4 separate regions of the Homo sapiens genome follow, and all the other regions are linked to region 2. Evidence: promoter capture Hi-C in 16 types of primary human blood cells and fetal thymus (Javierre and others, 2016). All regions are on one chromosome and are shown on one strand. The core of a region is centred on a gene start or on the middle of the fragment in contact, and the rest is flanking DNA. Distances in the headings are between cores, read along the strand shown.

Region 1 (3,123 bases), core at 184-2,683, 300 kb before region 2:
TTTATTTACTTATTTATTTATTTTCATGCAAGATAGGTTCTTACTCTGTCACCCAGGCTAGAGTACAGTGGCATGATCATGGCTCACGGCAGCCTTCTCCTCCCGAGGCTCAGGTGATTCTCCCACCTCAGCCTCCCGAGTGACTGAGACTACAGGCATGTACCACCATGCCTGGCTAATTTTTTTTGAATTTTTAGTAAAGGTGAGGTTTTGTCATGCTGCCCAGGCTGGTCTCAAACTCCTGGGCTCAAGCCATCTGCCCACCTCGGCCTCCCAAAGTGTTGTGATTACAGGCGCGAGCCAGTGCAGCCAGCTGGTTATTTCTCTATAGCAATGCAAGAATGGCTTAATACATCTCCCCTCCCCTACATGGGACAAGGCCATCTGATAATTAACCTTCCTAGCAACTCAGGACTAAGCTCCTGAACATAAAGGGAGCCAAAACAATTTGCATTTTTCTATGAGGCCTTCTTTGAAAGGTCTTGATGAAAAGGGGAGAAATGGGGAAAAAAATAGCACAGAGCAGTCTGAGCTATGTGAGGTGTGCCAAAGTTATCAGGCCCAGAGAGACAGGAGAGTGGGGCTTTTTGTTTTGTTTTTGTTTGAGACAACATAGTGAGAGCCTGTCTTTATAAAAAATTTTAAAAAATTATCCAAGCATAAGGGCATGTGCCTGTGGTCCCAGCTACTGAGGCAGGCTGAGGAGAGAGGATTGCTTGAATCTGGGAGGTTGAGGCTGCAGTAAGCTGTGATCACACCACTGCACTCCAGACTGGGTGACAGAGTGAGACCCTGTCTCAAAAAAAAAAAAAAAAAAAGAACCCACTGCTGCTAATTGGAGCATCTATTCAGGGGAACTTGAATCTAGGCTCCCAGGTGGCCATCCTTAAGCTTTGGGCTTGAATAAACTTTGTACTTAATCATATTTTCTAAATCTCATTATTTAAAGTCGAGAATTCATTCCTCCCTTCATCTGTTCATTCATATGTCTGTCCTTTCACCCACCAATCCGCTCATCTAGCCATCCACCCATTTGTCTGTTAGTCCGTCCATCCATCCATCCATCCATCCACTCACCCAGACATCCATCCATCCATCCATCTGTCCTTTCACCCACCCATTTATTCATCCATTCATCCATCCATCTATCCATCCCACTGAGTCATTCATCCATCTATCCATCCATCCATCTGTCCGTCCATCCATCTTATATTTTGGGGGGCATGTCTGATGTGTCAGATACTGTGGCAGGTGCACAGACACAAATTCGGAAGACAGATCTCCACTTAGAAGTGTGCCAGGCACCTCAGCTCAACATATCTCCAGCTGACTTCATTTTATCCTTCTCCTCCCATCTCTTGACGTTCTGTTCAAGCATTTAGTAAATGCCAGTCATCTATAGCCTGAGCCCACCTGGGTTGCCCTAAGTTGTCTGATTCACATCCATTCTAATTCCTTGGCTTCTCTCAACCATGTCTGCTCCTTTTCCTCCTCTTGGCCATTCCTGAGTGTACCTGGATCACTACAGCAGTATCTATGCTGTTTCCTCCTTTTCTAGGTGACCATTTGTCCTTCTGCCAGAGGGCTCTGTGGGAAATACAGATTCGATCCTGCTGTTTCTTACTGGGAACCCTCCATGGCTCCCAGTCCCTGGAATGTGCCGGGCAACTTTCAGCTCTTGGTCGTGGGAGCCTCCTGCCTGTGCACAGTGTGTTCTTCCAGGACCCATGCCCACTCCCTCCTTCCCAGCATTCCAGTTTGGCCCTTGAGGCCTCCTTGGAGTCATCCCCCTCCCAGATGTGCAATGCATTTTGGGTTCTCAACAGCTTCCCCTCCTTACCTGCAAAGGTTGAACAGACCTGGATCTGCTATCCTGCTTTGCCACTTCCTGCTGCATGACCTGCATTATGAAGTTCTCTAGACTCAGGGTTTCCATTGGCTAATAGGATCAGCCAACCTGCCTTTGAGGAGTGGACGAAGCTTGGCACTTAGTAGGTGCCCATGAGGCATCAGAAACTGCCCTTGTTGAATGATGCTCTAATGCGGTGTTGACATCTCTGTCCTACTAGACTGGGGTTGCTTTGAGGACTCCAATTCTGTCTTTTCATCCTGATTCCATGATGGAACAGACCCACAGGCCCTTGTCAGCATTCCAAAAAGCAAAAAGCTGTGAAAATGAAAAGGACTTTTTTTTTTTTTCTGTAAACTTGGTGCCAAAATTTGCAAAAGCTGACCTGACCCAAGGTGTTGGCAGCATCCCAACACTCCCTCTGTTACAGGCACCTCTGCTGGTTGCTGACAATGTATATGTTTTAATTTTTAAAATGCATTTGTCTTTTTGTGACCATGGGTTTAATTGCACTGTGAATTCATACAAAAAGGGTAGCATGTACCCAGTGCTCACTGTGGGAAGGACACATGGAAACACTCTCTTTGTCAATAGTGCAGAAAGCATCAGTGATGTTGGGAAGCCATCAAAAGACAAGCAGTTGGGCTGTGCGTGGTGGCTCATGCTTATAATCCTAGCACTTTGGGAGGCTGAGGTGGGAGGATTGCTTGAGGTCAAGAGTTCAAGACCAACCTGGCCAACATAGCAAGATCCCCTCTCTATTAAAAAAAAGACAAACAGTTGAAAATTTATAATAATTGTGATTACCAAGAGCCATTGAAATATGGAAAACACAGGGTCAGTGGGGTGTGGTGTAGGGAGAGAGATCTTGACCAGGAATGGATGGAACGGAATTGGCAATGAAGTAGTCACTGTATGCCAAGGAGTGGTTTGTTGGTTATGAAAGAAGCTGGAATACAGCAGGAAGAACTGAACTTTAAAGGTGAGCATGAATATTCAAGAAGTGTCATGGTGTAAAACAATCTGCATAGCTGTGGTGGAAAGGCTTCTTTCCTGATCAGGAAACAGCTGAAAATTACATTGATGGATTTGTATCCTCTGAAAACCTTAGTCTCAACCAGGCGCGGTGGCTCACGCCTGCGATCCCGGCACTTTGGGAGTCCAAGGCAAGTGGATTGCTTGAGCCCAGGAATTTGAGACCAGTCTGGCCAACGTGGCAAAACCCCATCTCTGCAAAAAATACAGAAATTAGCCAAGCATGGTGGTGCATGCCT
Region 2 (2,970 bases), core at 1-2,500:
GAACTAAAAACGGTTACTATTTACCCACCACGACAATCAAGCCTGGAGCAGTGAATCTGCATGGGGTCCACCCGCCAAAGGTCGGGTCGCCCCGGGTCCAGTGGGGAGGCCCCGCCGGCTGGGTCCCACCGCCCCCACGCACCTGCGTTTTGGTGACTCGATGCCGCGCCAGCTTCACCACCGCGAAGTTGCCTTTGCCCAGGGTCCGCTCGATGTCGTAAAAACCCACCCGGAGGGGCTTCTGCTGGCCCTGACCCTGGCCCGCGGGGTCCGCGCTGAACTCCGACATGATAACCATGGCTCCGCGCGCACCTGCGGGGCCGCACAGAGCTCAGAGCCCACCAGCGCCCCCGCCGCCCGCGGTCGGCTCCATCCGTGCCCGCGGAGCCCCCAGTCCCCACGGGACGCAGGGACCTGCTCCCACGCCTGTCGCCCCCACTCTATCCACGGGCCCCTCCAGCCCCGTGGGAGGTGTGGACCCGCCCCCGCCGCCCGCTCCACCCGGACCCCCGACCCTCTTGAGCCCCGCGGGGCGCACGGACCCGCTCTCATAGAGGCCCCTGCCGCCCGAGTCCGGTTCCGTCCCGATCCCGGGACCCCCTGAGCCGGGATTCCACACTCGCCTCCCGCCGCCCGCTGTCGGTTCCGTCCCCACCCTCGACCCCTTTAGCACCTCTGGGCGCGGACCCGCTCCCACACCTGGCCCTGCCACCCGAGGTCGGCTCGATCCGGATCCCAGGACCGTCCCCTGCCCCGCTCCCACACCCTGCCCCCGCCGCCCGCGATCCGTCCGGTCCCCACCCCCGACATCCCAGGCACCTCGGGGATCGCGGACCCGCCCCCCACACCCGGTATCTCCGCCCGCGGTCGGCTCCAACCTGACCCCCGGCTCCCCAGCCCCTGAGCCCCGCGGACTCACTCCTACCCCGGCCCCCCAACAAAGGGGAGCCCGAGGGCGGCCAGGCCGCCAACCCCGCCCGCGAACCCCGCGCGCGCAAGGCCAGGGACCCTGCGCGGTGGCTGCAACCCCGAGCCCCGGCCCGGCGCCCGCGCGGAGCCCCCACGGCGGCCACCTCCGCCCGCCCGGAGCCCGCCGCTGCCGCCGCTGCCGCCGCTGCCGCCGCCTCACCTCCGCCGCCACCGGAGCGCCCAGGCCAGGAAGCCGCCCGCTCGGCCGCTGGCGCTGCTCGGGTGCCTACTGCTCCGGCTGCCGCCGCCGCTGCTGCTGCCTCCGGGGCCGCGCCGCATGTCAGCCCGGAGCCGCCGCGCTCCGCCGCACGCGGCGCCCGGCCCCGCCCCGGCCCGCCCCGGCCCGCCCCCCGTAGTCCCCGCCCCCTGCCCCGCCCCCGCCGCCCGGGCGGGGGCCGCCCATTGACGTCGCTTTGACGCCAGAGCGACGCGCGGCCGAGCGCCGGGCGGAGGGAGAGCGGGAGATCGGGCGGTTGCCAAGAGACTGGCGGCTCTGACGCGCGCGGGATGAGGCCGTTGCCCTGGCGACCGCGGGCCGGTGACGTCAGGGGCGCCCGCCGCCCGAGGCCCGCCCGCCTGCGCTCCGCCGGGCGCCCCCTCCCGGGCGCTGGGGGCACTGCGGGCGGCCCCACCGCCGAGGGCGCGCCCGCCCCTCCACGCTCGGGCACTCGGGCCGGGTCCCGCGGGCGCCTTGTGCTCGCTCCCTCCAGGAGGGGACGGCTCTCGGGCAGGGGTCGCCGGCCCCTCCACGCGGCCTGCGTTCGTCCAGACTCAGAGCCTCGGGACGTGCGGGGGCCCGGGGGCCTCGCGGGCTCGCGCGTGGGGCTGGCGGCGCGGATGCCCTGGGGCGCTGCAGACCCCGAGAGGCCGCTTGCCCGCGGGGACGTCAGCCGCTTTTGCTGTTAAAATCTGAAATGTTCAGCAAGTTAGAAACTTGAAACCTAAGGAAGCGTGACCGGCCGCTCTGGAAGCCCCCGCCGCGCGGCCGGTCCCGGCCCCGGCCCTCAGCGGCGCTGGCGTCTGCGCGTCCCGGGGCTGCCCCCGCAGCATGTGGGGCTGGGACCCTCTTCCCGCGCGGGCCCCGGGCGGACGCTGCGGGCGGTGACGGAGCCAGGCCGGCCGCCTGGGTAGGGGACGGGGGCGCGGGACCACTTGCTTGCCCGTGGCCGATGCCTCATCCGAACGGAAAACGTTTTCTTCAGGGGAGACAGAGGCTGTGGGCGAAGGTATTTTTTAAGCCTGAGGACCCATTTGGGAGTTAGATTCTGGATCGAGCCTAGGGTCAGTTTTCCTTGTGTTAAATAACACTACTTCACAGAAGGGGGAACGAGAATTCAGGGGAGTTGGCACAAAACTTGGAACCCTTCTCGGGAGGCTTTCCTGCCTGGACGGACGCCTGGGAGGAGGGCCCGGAGAAACGAGGATGAGCTTCTCCTCATTCGCCCGAGGGTCTGACCACAGATTTCCCAATCGCCACACACACACACACACACACACACACACACACACACACACGGGTTGTTTGGGAGTCAGTTGGTTTTCAAAGGCTTTCAAGGAAATGAAGAGTCCCAAAGTTTTCCTTAATCGTTCAGAGTGTTTTTCTTTGTCCCAGGTTTATATACCAAGAATACGGGGGAATATTTTTAGTTCCTTTCAGCTGAACAGTGTACAACTGCCTTTTTTCCTTTTGGAGGTCCCAACACCCTGTTAATCCGCTCCTAGGAGAACTAAACAAAAACAAGGCTGGACGTCGTGTCTCCCGCCTGTAATCCCAGTGCTTTGGGAGGCTGAGGCAGGAGGATCAGTTGAGCTCAGGAGTTTGAGACCGGCTTGGTTAACATAGCAAGACCTCACCTCTATAAAATACTTTTAAAATAGCCAGGTGTGGTGGCACACGCCTGTGGGGCCGGCTACTTGGGAGCCTGAGGTGGGAGGATGGCGTGAGCCTGGGAGGTTGAGGCTGCAGTGAGCTGTCATTGCACCACTGCACTCCAGCCTGAG
Region 3 (3,046 bases), core at 311-2,810, 270 kb before region 2:
ATCTGCACCTAGACGCTCCCCAGGCCCCCTCTTCTTGGAAACCTGGGCTAAGACAGTAACTAAGCTGGGTTGGTTCCAATCATGTGAGATTGGTTTAGCATTAGACAACTGATTCATAAAGTTCTTTGTATTAACATATCAAAAGAGGAAAAGACGTATGACCTTTTCAGGAACGCAGAAGCAATTTCAGAAAAAATGATACCTACGTAACAACCAGAGCAGTGAGCAGATTCTTTTTAGGTCATGATGCAAACACATCAACTGTAAAAGAACATATTTGAGACAATCAGGGTTATCTGATGAGGGACTAGGTTTTAGATGACATCGAGAAATTGTTAGGAATCCTGTCAAACGTGAGAGGGAATTTGCGCTTATAGAAAGAAATGTTCGATTTGTAGGAGAGGTACCTGAAGTGCGCGGGGGTGAAATGACGTGGCGTCTGTGCTTTGCTTTAAAATACTCCAGTAAAGAAAAAAACCAAGAGAAGCGGGAAGCAGGGCAAAATCCTCCTAATTGTTGGATCTGGCTGAGGAGTATGTGAAGGGCTCATTGTTCCATGGTCTCTACTTTTGAGACTGTGTAAAAATTTTCATGATAAAAATAAACTCAATGAAGTAGCATTTGCCGCCACCGTAAAAGTAATACCCCGTGATGGGCGCACCAGGTGCTGGCCCGCAGGGGGAGGGCGGGACGTCACTGGCTCTGTCCCCGTCACCCATGACCTGCACGTCCTGGCAGTGGTGAGCGCCCAGTGTGTGCTGTGGGACAGAATTATCTCTAAACCCCCGAAAGAGGATCCTCTCCCCAACTTAACTCCAGCCTCGGAGGGCCTCGGGGGTCTATGGCACACTCTCCCTGCTGGCTTTGTTCTGGAAAGGGCTGGCGGGACATGACCGGCCCCACGTTGCACTCTGAGGGCAGCTCGGGGGTCTGCAGGGGACCATCCTGTGTAACCTGCTGACCTCGAGGAGAAGCAGGGCGAGGGCTTAGCTCAGGCACATTCCCCGCTGAGCCACAACAATGCCCCATCCGCCCTACACAGGCGGATTTGTGTGTGAGCCCCGCGGGGCCCTGGAGTGGAAAATTGCAGCGCCAGCCTTTGTGGGGCAGACTGCTGGCGTTACGGGAATCCTGTAGATGAAGTGAATGTGGCCTTTGTGTGAGGGGCTGGCATTGAGCTCGGGTGCAGTGGGGCGGCAAATCGCTGAGGACAGGCTTAAGCTGGGCCGCGGAAACAATGCCGGGGAGCCACGGAGGAGCCATCGCAGAGGCCGGGAAAAACCTCCCGACAGGGCTCGATCTGTAGAGATATTTGAGAAAAATGATCTCCGAGACAGTGGCTTACACACCCCCACGCATACACACCACGGACACACACCACACACATCACACACACACCATACACTATAGATGTACCACACACACACCCCACCACCTATACAACACACACCACACACACCACACACACACCATACACTATAGATGTACCACACATACACACCCCACACCACCTATACAACACACACCACACACACCACAGACACACACCACAGATATACCACACACACACCAGATACACAACATACACATCACACACACCACACAGACACACACCACAGATACTCCACACTGCACACACATCATACACCACACACACACCACACACACATCACACACATCACACACACATCACACACATCGCACACCACACGCACCACAGAAACATCACACACCACACATATACCACACACCCCACATTCCACACACCCCACACATCACATAAACACCACACACACACCACTCACATCACACACCACATATACCACACACATCACATATACAACACACACCACACACACACCCCACACATCACATATACAACACACACAGCACATACCAGACACATCACACACACACACACCACACACACTATACACGGTACATTGTACACCACACACCACACACACATCACACACACGTCACAGAAACCCCACACACCACACATATACCACACACACACACCACACACGTCACAGACACACCACACACACCACACCCATCACAGAAACCCCACACACCACACGTATACCACACACACACCACACACGTCACAGAAACCCCACACACCACACACACATCACACACCACATATCCAACACACACCCCCCACACACCACACATATCAAATATACACCACACCCCCACACACGCTCCCAGACCAGTTGGAGCCCTGCCCTCGCACCCCAGATCCCGCACATCTGTCCCTCTGTTCCCTTGGCCTCCCACCCCTTCTCCACCCTCAGGAGCCCCATGCAGCCCACACTGGGTCCTGCCCAGCCCCTGGGCCGGAGGGGATGGTCCCCCTGCGCCGTCCCCAGCGCTGCCCACCCTGCAGAACGTCCTCAGGCGGCCGGGCTCCACACCTGCGACAGGCCCGAGGCCCCGGCTGCAGGCCCCACTCGGCTGCAGTTCCCGTCGAGGCAGCCAATGGCCTTGAGGCCTCTCCCAGGTGGGACGGCCCCTGCGAGGGCTGGTGGGCACAGGGGCCAGCCCTGCCCCATGGCCTTGCTCAGCTGTGGGAGGCGTGCCTTTTCTTTCTCTGATCTCTGTGAAACTCTTACTTTTTCTTCCCCGGGGCGGGGGGGTGAGGGTCGGGCCTGTGGTGGCACTGCGCTGAGCCAGGCATGCTGGGCTGGCGTCTCCCTTGCTGGGGCGCAGATGGCCTAGGTGGGGCCCGTGTGGAAGCTGCGTCCATCTGACTCTGCCGCCTGTGCGGTCTCTGCATCTGTGAGGGGGGACCCAGCAGCAGTGGCCCAGGGTGGGGCTGGGACTGAGGGTCAGGCCGGATGGAGCTGTGCGGCGGCACCTGGCCCACATTCTCCCTGCGGCCACCAAGACCCCAGGTGGGCACTGGCACCTTGGGCTATGCCCAGGTCCCCACCCTCAGCCTTCTCTGGAAGCTGCTGGCTCTGTGGTGACCCCCTCCCGCACCCCCTTAACCCAAGGCGGGTCCTTTGGGGCCCACTGGGTGCTCTGGCTGGGTCTG
Region 4 (3,160 bases), core at 511-3,010, 320 kb before region 2:
CTCAGTCAAAGGTGTGCAGCTGGGAAGCCCACCCCACCTAAGAGGGAGGTCTGACAAACTGTCCACACTGAACCACTCAGACCTGCATCAGGGCCCCGTTTCTTCCATAAGCCGCCAAGTACAGCCCTGAGTCAACTGAACTCAGGCCTGGGAGGCTTCCCAAAGCTGACTTGACTCAGCTTTGAACTGAAATGACCGTACCATGACAACCCTGATGAAAAGCTAAACTGAGCCCAATTATTCAACAGTAAAATTCAGTTGGTCTCACTCAGGTATTCTGGCAGTGGCTATTTAATGAAGGAAGCTTAACGTAAAGAGGCAATGCAGTCTAATGGGAAAGCCAAGGGTGGCTAGGATTGCCTAAAACCAACCAAAACAAACCCACGCATCAAACTAGGATGCTTAAGCTGACACATACTACTGACCCCATCGAGCTCCAATGGGCTCTCCCCAGCACTGACCTGGAATGCCTAAATTAACTTCACATTTCACATTCTCAGGTAATCTATGATCCAGAAAAACATAAAGAAAGTGCCTCCAGCCAGATTAAAGAAAACTTTTAGAATAGGGAACAGTTGATTTCTCTCAGCCCAACACTTGGGACACCCCCCAAAATCAAAGAACTGGGTGGTCACTTAAGATGCTTGGTTATACCACAATCCATGGCCACTGGTTTAGTTAGGGGAGATTCGGTTCATAAATCAAAACATTAAAGAAAAAACAATTGCAATACACAGAAAATGTAAAGCTAGTTCTCCAAGATTTTGAAATTTGTAAAAAGAAACTCATGTTCAGAGCTATCAAAAGACAGACTGCTATTATACTAACCACTTGGTAATTAGCATAATGGAGGGAAAAGCCATCATCCTCTTCCCTTCTAAAAACACTGTGTGCTGTGGGGTCGTCCATGGGCTTCAACCGGAAAAAACCCATGTTTCCTTCTCCCAGCTCACTTACACAAAGTGGTAGATTTTCTTAAATGCTTACAGGAAAACGTATACAGACAGATGTGAGCTCAAAGGCAGAGCCTGGCAGCTCCCAGGGACCACGCATAATAGCTACTCAACAGCTCAGAGGCTGCACATTTAGACTTCAAGGGTGGGTTGGAAGGAGTTCCCCAGCCCTCCATCTGGAAAGACTTGGGCATCGATTTTCAAATTTCAAATGTTCTCATCAACGTGGGCACAAGTTTTCTGCTCCGATTAGAGGTGCCTTCTCCCTTTAATCCGTAAGTGATCCTTTATAGTGTACCAACCTTTGCCTTTTCTTCAACTAACCAAAAATAAAACTATCAAAACTCACAACTTTTGATTGAACTGAACTCAGAGCGGATCTAAGCCCAAGATAACAGGCACTCCTCAATTAACCAAACAGACCCGCTAAGAGCAATTTACGGCCCATTTTCTACCTTTCAGCTTAATTTTTCATGTTTCCATGACGTGATGCGACTCGCTGTTTCCTCAGCTAGGGATGTGAAAGTGAGGACGCAGCCAGAGAAGCTCGAGCAGCATGATGGGCCTGGTGACAATCACGCTAACTTGGAAGGTGGCTCCATCACCTCTACTGTCTGGAGACAGCAAAGAGCAGAAAGCCCACTCCGTGTCCACTGGTGCCTGGAGGAGGCTAACCCAAGGCTGGCACGGCCACCCCCTCTGGACCCATGTCTATCAGAGGGGGTAGGGAAGATGGCAGGGCAGCAAATATCAGGCACAGCCAACACACAAACATCAAAAACTGATTTTTAAAGTTTCTCTAATGATAAAAACAAGGAGTGGTGGTCTCAGACCTTCCACTGGAAGTCGATCACCTGCCTCACTATTATTTAAATAAAAGAACACACTTATGAACACAAATGGAAAATACAACTACGAGAGAAAAAATGACTTGCTTAATATGTAGAAATTAACTGTCTTTGAAAAGAACATGAAGTTTTTATAATTTACATGAAAAAAAGGCAAACAAACCTGGCTAAACGTCGGTTTATTGTGCAACCGAGAGCACCTGTCTCCATGACGACATGCTCCAATTTTGAAATAAAATGAACAGTTGACTCTGTAAGGGAAAATGAGAGCTGATTATTTTGCTGGGAAGATATCAAACACATGGAATATGTCAGCAGCATGACATACACTATCAAATTACTTTTAACCTCACAGAAACATGACACAGACTTTTTTCCGTGGTATTAAGCACCTCCTCTTCCTTGCTGTATTTTAGGACAACGTAACTTCAACTTCCCTTTCTGCAAACACACTACTTGTTCAGCAAAGACGGTTCTAACTCTAACCCGCCTCCTCCTCATTCAAATCCCCTCCACTTTCCTAACTGCACAGCTGTTCTGTTTGTTTCTTAAATGGAGTATTAAATTAGTCTAAAACTAAATGTAACTTAGGCAGTATCTGTTCTCCAGTTCTCCACGACCAAGTTCTCTCTTGAAAACACCGGTGTGGTGAGGGTTAAGATCCCAACTCTGCTACCAGCTGCTTGGGCTTGGGCAAGTCACCCTAGCTCTCAGATGTCATCTGTAAATGATGACAATGCCAATGTGGCACTGTTCTGAGAGTCAGACAGAACGTATGTGTGCTTCACATATGGTGCTCATGAAGTGCTATCATTATCTAAGGAAAACAGAAAACGAAGTTCAGAGTCTCTCTAAACGCATGACACCAGACCAACAGGGAGTTTCAAAAAATAGGTCTGAAGTAAATCAATTCTCCTGGTCTCAATACACTGAAAACAAACTATTAGGGGACTGACCGAACCCACCTTAGGAACCACCTTACGTCACCTTCTGTCTCTACTGCAAAACCCTCCCTTAATACTGTTCAAATACGCTGACAATCCAGATCCATATCCAATGGAACCAGCAATCATGCCTGTGTGCCAGCAATGTCAGGGAGGGAAGCCGATCTCTGATGAATTAGGACATCTTACCAGACAGACTTTGTTCAAAATTCAATTTTTTTTTAACCAAGTGCCATTATGTTTTAAACAGTCAATCCAGAGTTAAGATTGAAGGGCCTCAACCTCAGTGAAATCTAATGGACCATGAAGACTGACTAGCCACTGATTTATTATCAGGTAGCAATAAAGATGGGAAAGTCCAAATTTATCAGGAGAGGAAAGTGATTATATATATTTGCAAACTTACAGGTCTTGA

Evidence for each region. The method cuts DNA at HindIII sites, captures the fragments that hold promoters and counts their contacts. A CHiCAGO score of 5 or more calls a contact.
Region 1: a contact is called between a fragment that was not itself captured here and the fragment with the promoter of SIK1 in region 2, in 2 of 17 cell types (endothelial precursors and M1 macrophages). The highest score is 6.1, in endothelial precursors.
Region 3: a contact is called between a fragment that was not itself captured here and the fragment with the promoter of SIK1 in region 2, in 2 of 17 cell types (endothelial precursors and M0 macrophages). The highest score is 12.4, in endothelial precursors.
Region 4: a contact is called between a fragment that was not itself captured here and the fragment with the promoter of SIK1 in region 2, in 1 of 17 cell types (total CD8 T cells). The highest score is 5.7, in total CD8 T cells.

What each region holds. Positions count from the first base shown.
Region 1 is chr21:43,126,820-43,129,942 of GRCh38, forward strand. All of the region lies in intron 3 of LOC101928369 (a long non-coding RNA gene), which reads left to right. Among named protein-coding and RNA genes, the nearest start is that of FRGCA, 13 kb to the right of the region's middle. The HindIII fragment of the contact is 1,089 bases long and covers 890-1,978 here.
Region 2 is chr21:43,425,881-43,428,850 of GRCh38, forward strand. It overlaps SIK1 (salt inducible kinase 1), which reads right to left and starts at 1,251. Exons shown (of 14, transcript NM_173354.5): 1 at 1,130-1,251; 2 at 143-312. The coding sequence starts at 298. The HindIII fragment of the contact is 3,848 bases long and covers 1-2,970 here.
Region 3 is chr21:43,158,468-43,161,513 of GRCh38, forward strand. It overlaps LOC107987300 (a long non-coding RNA gene), which reads right to left. Exons shown (of 3, transcript XR_007067885.1): 2 at 207-261. Among named protein-coding and RNA genes, the nearest start is that of CRYAA, 9.0 kb to the right of the region's middle. RefSeq lists an enhancer at 2,608-3,046. The HindIII fragment of the contact is 4,113 bases long and covers 1-3,046 here.
Region 4 is chr21:43,102,351-43,105,510 of GRCh38, forward strand. U2AF1 (U2 small nuclear RNA auxiliary factor 1) reads right to left here. Exons shown (of 8, transcript NM_006758.3): 2 at 1,965-2,052. Among named protein-coding and RNA genes, the nearest start is that of U2AF1, 3.6 kb to the right of the region's middle. The HindIII fragment of the contact is 2,917 bases long and covers 303-3,160 here.